Linked DNA regions of Homo sapiens: all the other regions are linked to region 2. The links are contacts of gene promoters, found by promoter capture Hi-C in blood cells and fetal thymus (Javierre and others, 2016). All regions are on one chromosome and are shown on one strand. The core of a region is centred on a gene start or on the middle of the fragment in contact, and the rest is flanking DNA. Distances in the headings are between cores, read along the strand shown.

Evidence for each region. The method cuts DNA at HindIII sites, captures the fragments that hold promoters and counts their contacts. A CHiCAGO score of 5 or more calls a contact.
Region 1: a fragment that was not itself captured here is called in contact with the fragment with the promoter of EXOC1 in region 2 in 1 of 17 cell types (fetal thymus); the score reaches 7.4 in fetal thymus.
Region 3: a fragment that was not itself captured here is called in contact with the fragment with the promoter of EXOC1 in region 2 in 2 of 17 cell types (fetal thymus and total B cells); the score reaches 7.6 in fetal thymus.

The regions. Positions count from the first base shown.
Region 1 is chr4:56,833,455-56,836,154 of GRCh38, reverse strand. No RefSeq gene overlaps it. Among named protein-coding and RNA genes, the nearest start is that of SPINK2, 13 kb to the right of the region's middle. The HindIII fragment of the contact is 4,006 bases long and covers 1-2,700 here.
Region 2 is chr4:55,852,357-55,855,056 of GRCh38, reverse strand. EXOC1 (exocyst complex component 1) reads right to left here and starts at 1,409. Exons shown (of 19, transcript NM_001024924.2): 1 at 1,104-1,409. RefSeq lists a silencer at 1,518-1,617. The HindIII fragment of the contact is 2,625 bases long and covers 152-2,700 here.
Region 3 is chr4:56,527,681-56,530,380 of GRCh38, reverse strand. It overlaps LOC105377665 (a long non-coding RNA gene), which reads left to right. Exons shown (of 4, transcript XR_941077.1): 1 at 1-31; 2 at 1,964-2,005. Among named protein-coding and RNA genes, the nearest start is that of SPMAP2L, 1.6 kb to the left of the region's middle. The HindIII fragment of the contact is 1,855 bases long and covers 407-2,261 here.

The DNA.
Region 1 (2,700 bases), core at 29-2,528, 980 kb before region 2:
GTAGACAGGTGGAATTCTGGGCCTCGCCCTAGACTCACTGAATCTGAGTGATTCATATGGACATCAAAGTTTGAGAAGAACTGCTTTAGCCACATGGAGTCTCTTGGAATTCTCTAAAGGAGTCACGCTCGCCTTTGCACATGCTGATCTTCCCAAGTCAGAAATACCCCTTTCTCTATCTGCTAGGCAAGCTAGCCTCTTATTTACCCTTCTTATTTAACTAATCATCAGGGAACCGGCAAAAGAAGAAAGATAGGGGAGACTGGTAAATATATAGTCAGTGGGAAAAAGAATGCTGGGATAAGACTGCAATATGAAATATAACACTGCTTAATATTCACAGAGCAATGAAATGGCAACCTTTGGAGATATCTTTTCTTTCTTTCTTTTTTTAAACAAGAGTCTCGCTTCTTCGTTCATGCTGGAGTGCAATGGCGCGCTCTTGGCTCACTGCAATCTCCACCTCCTGGATTCAAGCAATTCTCCTGCCTCAGTCTCCCCAGTAGCTGGGATTACAGGCATGTGCCACCAAGCCTGGCTAATTTTTGTATTTTTAGTAGAGACTGGGTTTCACCCTGCTGGCCAGGCTGGTCTCAAACTCCTGAAGTGATCCACCTCAAGTGATCTACCCGCCTCGGCCTACCAAAGTGCTGGGATTACAGGCGTGAGACACCGCACCTGGCCTGGAGATATCTTTTCTACCCAACAAAATCATTTGCCACTTATTTTCCATAAGCTAACATCTAACTTTACAGACTCCGGACCCTATCAATGGTAAATAAATGAAATGAAATGACTTCCTCTACAATCAGACAACTTCCATGCCGGCCTTTTAGACAGTACTCTAGTATGACTTTGAAAGGACATATTTGGGCCGGGCGCGGTGGCTCACGCCTGTAATTCCAGCACTTTGGGAGGCCGAGGCGAGCGGATCACAAGGTCGAGAGATCGAGACCATCCTGACCAACATGGTGAAACCCTATCTCTAATAAAAATACAAAAAATTAGCTGGGCGTGGTGGTATGTGCCTGTAGTTCCAGCTACTCAGGAGGCTGAGGCAGGAGAATTGCTTGAAACCACCGGAAGGCGGAGGTTGCAGTGAGCCAAGATCATGTCACTGCACTCCAGCCTGTGCAACAAGAGCGAAACTCTGTCTCAAAAAAAAAAAAAAAGGACATATTTGGAGGACACATTAGGATAATTTTTCTTTTTTTTTTTTTTGAGATGGAGTCTGTCTCTGTCACCCAGGCTGGAGTGCAGTAACGTGATCTTGGCTCACTGCAACTTCTGCCTTCCGGTGGTTTCAAGCAATTCTCCTGCCTCAGCCTCCCGAGTAGCTGGGACTACAGGTGCCCACCACCACGCCCGGCTAATTTTTTTGTATTTTTAGTAGAGATGGGGTTTCACTGTGTTAGCCAGAATAGTCTCGATCTCCTGACCTCATGATCCACCCACGTTGACCTCCCTAAGTGCTGGGATTACAGGCTTGAGCCACTGCGCCTGGCCGGATAATTTTTCTTAAATGTTTAAACTTGGTGCCAGAGGCAATATGGAGCATACATGTTGGGTTGCCAACTTGATCCACAATTGAATTTGAATTATGTTAGCTTCAGGGGTAAAGTTTCTATCTACATCACAGAGCTGAATGGTAAGGAAAACCATATTGAATTAGGCTTGTCTTTTAATTTTTTGTAGAGATGGGACTCTCACAATGTTGCCCAGGTTAGTCTCAAATCCTGGCCTCAAGCGATCCTCCCATCTCCGCCTCCCAAAGTGCTGGGATTAGAACACCCAGCCAAATTCTATGTTTTGACCACTGTATTTTCCTAGCTGTTTTCCAGCTAATCAGAAGCACATACAAGTCAAAAATACCCAGAACACATAATTTCACAATACCTTGTAGAAAGCAGGGCAAGAACGGTTATATTAACATGTAATTCTAAGTCATATAATTGTTTTGTTTATGGTGAGCATATTTTGTAAAATAATTGGGATGCCTACTGCCTACTCTGACAAAAGTTGTTTTAATTTTTCTCATAGAAACTTGGGAATCTTTTAGTTGAAAGTTTCACAAATGTCTAAACATTAAATTACATTATGTTTAAATTGCCCTTCATTGTAGAATATAATAAAATTACCTATTCTTTTTTTTTTTTTTTTTTTTTTTTTTTGAGAAGGAGTTTCGCTCTTGTTGCCCATGCTGGAGTGCAATAATGGCCAGATCTCAGCTCATTGCAATCTCTGCCTCCTCCCAGGTTCAAGCAATTCTCCCGCCTTAGCCTCCTGAGTAGCTGGGATTACAGGCATGCGCCACCACGCCCGGCTAATTTTGTATTTTTTTTTTAGTAGAGATGGGATTTCTCCATGTTAGTCAGGCTGGTCTCAAACTTCTGACCTCAGGTGATCCTAACTGCCTACGGCCTCCCAAAGTGCTGGGATTACAGGCCTGAGCCACCGCACCCGGCTAAAATTACCTATTCTCAATACTTAGACTTAAGGCCACTACGATTTACTAGATCAGCATTAATTACTCAGGTTCATTTAAATCATGATGATGTTAAAGAAGGAAAAGAGAATCTGTATGCTCAGAATATTTTGAATTATATACCTTTATGGCCGGGCACACTGGCTCATGCCTATAATTCCAGCCCTTTGGGAGGCCAAGGAAGGGGAATCACTTGAGGTCAAGCCAACATGGTG
Region 2 (2,700 bases), core at 160-2,659:
ATATCATCTCCGCCCTATCCAAACCCTAATTACACTTCATGGTTTACATGAAGTTGATTCAATGAAGATCTTAATCCAAAGTGATCTCTCCTCTAAATTTCTACAGCACTTACTGCATTTGCCGTCTAATGGGCTCATTAAATCATAAGCTTCTCTATCTCAAGAATTCTCTTAAAGAAGGGAGGGATGTTCATCATAGTTTTGTGTTTAGTGGATACTTAAATATCTATTAAGGTAATTAGAACTGAATAGTAAAAACTGGTCAAATGAATAATAGGGACCAACGTTTACCACATACTCCTTCTCTGGCTAAAAGCAACTGAGTGTACAGTAAGAGGCAAAACAAGACAGGATTGGGCATACCTCATAAAGGAGTTAGCCATAATGAAAAGCAGTATGTGACTCTTCATTCATTCAGCAAATACTCATGCTTATTAGGTGGCAGACACTATTCTAGGTTACAGTAGTCAACATGACAGATATGTTTATGAAGACCTGAAGCCGGGTGTTTCTATGGCATTTACATCCTAAGAGTCGAGTGATTAACTCTTCAGTCTTTACGGTACTTTTCTGAAAGTCAGTAAATAAATCCCTAGAGGTCCTCTAAAATTATTCTCCAGGTCTGAGAACCCATATCTGACCACGTTCCAAAGGCAGCCATCCACTGCTTACTCTGTACTGGTTGTTTCCTTCAGCTCAGTTGGACCACCACACTGTGTGACAAATAGCCTGTCAGTGTGAGTGCCCGTGTGCATTGGGCCCTGTATGCTGCTGAGATATATTAATGCATGAAGCATTGCCATCTAGAAGATATAACTGTGCAAGGAAATAGAGAAATACACTTAAGAGATTTGGCGGGGGGTGGGGGGGAGTTGGGGTTGGGGGGCCGGGATGTGAATTTGGACAAAGAGGAAGGCACAGTCACGCTCTCCTCTCCTGGACCACGCCAAAGAGCTTACGATCAGGGTCATTTTGCACAAACAAAATCTGGTTCCGATGGGCGGAACCGTAATGGGGCCCGTGAGGACTGCCCTCCCAGCTCCGCATTCTCCTAGACCCGAGGACAAGGGACTGGAGAATGCTCTGACCAAACTTCGTCTTACCGGGACAAACGGGGAAAGGAAGGTCAGAAGGAGCGGTGCCCGACCCCAGGCGTGGAGACAGCAGCCGGACTGAGGAGCCGCCTTAGACCCTGGTGCCTGTCAGCTCGTCTGTCCGCCGCCGCCGGGACTACCGGGCAGCCGCGGCCGAAGGCTTACCGCAAGGCCGGACTGAGCCTGGCTGTGCCGAGGCGGGTCTTCCAAAACGGAGACCGGATGGGGGCCACTAGGATACGCCCCTCAATAAAGCGTTGAACGGGAAGCGGCCGTTCCCCCAACACTTCCTATATCCGGGCACGTGACAAACTCCGCGCCGGAAGTTGACCGCGTAGAGAAGGAAGAAGCAGCGATGGGAGAAAAAGGGAGCGGCCAATAGACGCGGAGGGGCGGGGCGCCAACCGACGGGCGTGGCCAGGCGGAACAAGGCCTCATTGGAGGGGCGTGTCAGGGAAGGGCAGGGGCGGGGCCTTTGTGGCACAGAAACTGACTTGGGAGTTGGGGATTAAGAGTTATTTATTCAGATATTTGCAGCAATTCATTTAAGAAGAAATTCGATTAAATGTTTTCTTTTTTCATACGTAAAGCTCTATTAACTCTAGATCTTTGCTACTTAAACTTTGGAGAGCTTAAATGAGTTAAATCAGAATCCCTGCGGGTGGGACCCAGACATCAGTACTTTTAATATCTTCCCAGATGATTCTCATATGCAGCTAAGGTCAAGAACCATTGTCCTCATGACCTTGATACTCAAAGTGTGGTCCGTGGATCAGCTGCTTGGGTATCATCTGGGGGCTTTTTAGGAAATGCAGCCTCTCTGGCTCACTTCAGATCTACTGAATCAGAATCTGCATCTTAGCAAGATGATGCTTATGCATATTTAAGTTTGGGATGCATAAATGATGCCAATGTTGCTGGTTGCAGGTAGGTGTTTTATTTATTCAATATTCCTGGCACCTTTTTTTTTTAATGCTAGGCACTTTGATTCCAGGTACAGAGGTGATTCAGGCATGAATCTTAACCTAAAGGAGTTCACAGTGTGGTAGGACTAGACAAGGTGTAGGTACAAATATATATAAAATAGGACACAAAATAAGTGACCAAAGAGAGGTACAGATCAGATAAATGTGCTAGAAATTTAAATGAGCAAACAGTAGTTAGAATACTTTTCACTTTCATCAAATGACTTCCCTTTTAAGAGCAGGATCTGGTTATATCTTTACAAAGACCCTTTCCTGCTTGGCACCGGAATGCTTACTGTGGACACTCTATGACAATTGCATGTGTTTTTTGGTCCTATTATCTTTCTTTTATTTACCTGTATGTTTATAGCCCTCCTCAAAGTTGGGAAATGAATTGCATTTCAGAAGCCTAGATCTCTTTCTTGAACCTCAAGATTTGTGTATATACTGCCCATCGCCTGACATTTCCACTTGGATGTCTTATAGACACCTCAAACTTGTGTGTCCAAAAATTAAATTATCCTCTCTCCTCTTGGATTCCCTGCAAAGTGACACTTATATGCAATAGTTTATTTGGAAATTTGATCCCAGGGAGCAAAATGAGGGAAGAGGAAGAAGACAAAACAAAAAGGGAGATGCAG
Region 3 (2,700 bases), core at 85-2,584, 680 kb before region 2:
GCATCTGGGGACTAAGAAAAGCCAGAGACAGGTCGGTGGAGATAGGAGACGAGATGCTGACCCTGTTCCCCGTGTCCAGAGCAAGGATTCTCGCCTGCTGTCGTTCGCGGAGGCCCTGGGGTAGAACATGTCAGTTTCTAATCTAGTTAGGGCGCCCCTCAGACCCCAGAGGCAATCTGTAAAGAGCTTGTGCCCAGAGGTTCCTGGACACAATCTCTATACGGGCTTTTGTCCCCTAATCATGCTGGGAGAGGATGCCGAGACTGATAATATTCTAAGGCCCTCAGTTACTAACACTGATTTCCATCAATTTCTAGTTAAATGCACGACCATCAGAATGGAGCGGGGGCGGGGGGCGGGGGGTGTGGGGGAGGTGGATCCACCAGTGCGACATTTGACATAAGCTTACATTCAAGAAGAGTCTCAAACTTGAATGTTTTACTTTATCTCCACATGAAGTTCTATACACAGTCACAAAGAAACACTGACTGGATTAAAAGAAAAATATATTCATCTACAACTTGTGTCTCATTACAGGGCTCACTATCTACTGAAGCATGCTATCAGCTACTTTTTATAAAGGGCTGTAATTATCTTGTGAACAGTACAACTGTGTGCTGTGTTCTGTGGGTGCGTCCATTAATTTGTTAACTGTGGTATCTTTTAAATATACCACACTTCTTGTAACCCTGTTTTTGGCATCCTCTCTTTTTTATCACTTATTATACCAAGAGACTTTAAAAACATAGGTGGCCTGGCCGTCTCTCAATCCTTGAGGAGTGCTTTCAGCTAATTTTCATGGTGGTGACAGTGTGATAGAGGGGAATAGAAGTGGTGGAGTTTTACTGATGTGTTTATTTTCAAGGGAAGGGACTAGAGGTGTTGAGGAATAAGTTGTCTGTTAAAATATTTAGTAAACCCAAGTACCCCTTTTGCTCGTTACTGGGTATTCCTTGTATGTACTTAGTCTCATAGATGCTAAGAAAAGTTAGAAGAGAAATATTTTGGATTGTGAATGTTATCTGGAATGGAACTAGAAGATTCATTCTAGCATGTGCGTATATGAATCGGAATCTCCTTCAACCTTACTTTGATAGAGATGTGTGTAATATTGTATGGAAGTTCAGGAAATATCCCCCAAAACTTGGAAGGAGAAATAAAGCTACTCTCAGAGAGTTTTAACTCAACCTTTAAACCAATCAGGGAGGAGTTATGTAAATCCACCTTAAAGAGGCAGGATGGCCCTTAAATCAGTAAAAGTAGTCCCTGGTTACATGAAATGTCTTCGAAAGTCCAAAGAACATGTCAATTGAAAGAGGGGGATTCAGGCCACTGTGAATGTACAGAATGAGCATCATAGAGGCTGTGCCTTCTCAAAAACTGCAGAAAGGAGGGGATCTAAGCCAATAGACTGCAATTGTTACAGCCTATCTTTTAGGCCCACTTGCTATGAATGTGGTGCCACTGTATATCAAAATATTCATGTTTAGCTTTCTTTCCTTCTTTTTTATTTGGGACAGGGTCTGGCTCTGTCGTCCAGGCTGGAGTGCAGTGGAGCAATCTTGACTCACTGCAACTTCTGCCTCTTGAACTCACACCATTCTCCCACCTCAGCCTCTTGAGTGGCTGGGACTACAGGCGCATGCCACCACGCCTGGCTAATTTTTGGTATTTTTTTGTAGAGACAGGGTTTTGCCATGTTGCCCAGGATGGTCTCAAACTCCTGAGCTCAAGCGATCCACCCACTTTGGCCTCCCAAAGTGCTGGGGTTACAGGCATGAGCCACTGCACTGGGCACAGGCAGCTTTCTGACATGACTTGCTTCTCAAGGAGTCTGCTTATTGGGAAAGATTATAATGATCACATAGAATGAATTCTTTTCCAAGTCTGTCTTAGTTCATTTTATGTTGCTATAATAGAATACCTGAGACTGGGTAATTTATAAAGAATTTATTTCTCATAGCTCTGGAGGCTGGGGCATCCAAGTGCATGGCTGTGGCATCTGGTGAGTCTTTCTTGATGCAGCATAGCATAACATGGTGGGAGGGCTGAACATGAAAGAGAGGCACCAGGGCTGGACTCATTTTATAACAACCCACTCCCACCATAATGACATCATGATAAGGTCATGGCAGGCCACCCAGGCCCATCATCATCTCTCTGGATTCTACAGTGGCCTCCGAACTGGTGGAACTTCTGACTTTTACCTTTGATCACCTCCAATCATAACACTCCAAACCATTTTTTTAAATCCTCAAGCTTTGCATTATAAGGTGTTCCATACTCTGGTTATTTTTTCCCTCTCTAGTCTACTTTGAGCCACTCCACCCTTGCTGTCTACATTCTGGCCTCCCTACTCTTCTCTAAAGTGTCAAGCTCTTTCCCATTTCAGTCTCTTCTCACACCTGTTCCCACTGCGTGGAGCCCATTTCTTCCCACTGTTTACATACTGGCTCTTTTCTAGCCTCTGGGGCTCAGCTTAAATATTACCCACTCAAAGAGGTCTTTCCAGCCCATATTAATTTTAAAAATGTTCCCACCATTATTTTCTATTTCATTTCCTTGCTTCAACATAATTTGTAATTATTTCATCTGCTTGTTTATTTTTGTGTATTTCCCCAGCTAGAATGTAAGCTCCTTAAAGACAGTGAAATTCTCTGTCCTGGTTACTGGTATATTCCCTGTGCCAAGCACAGTGAA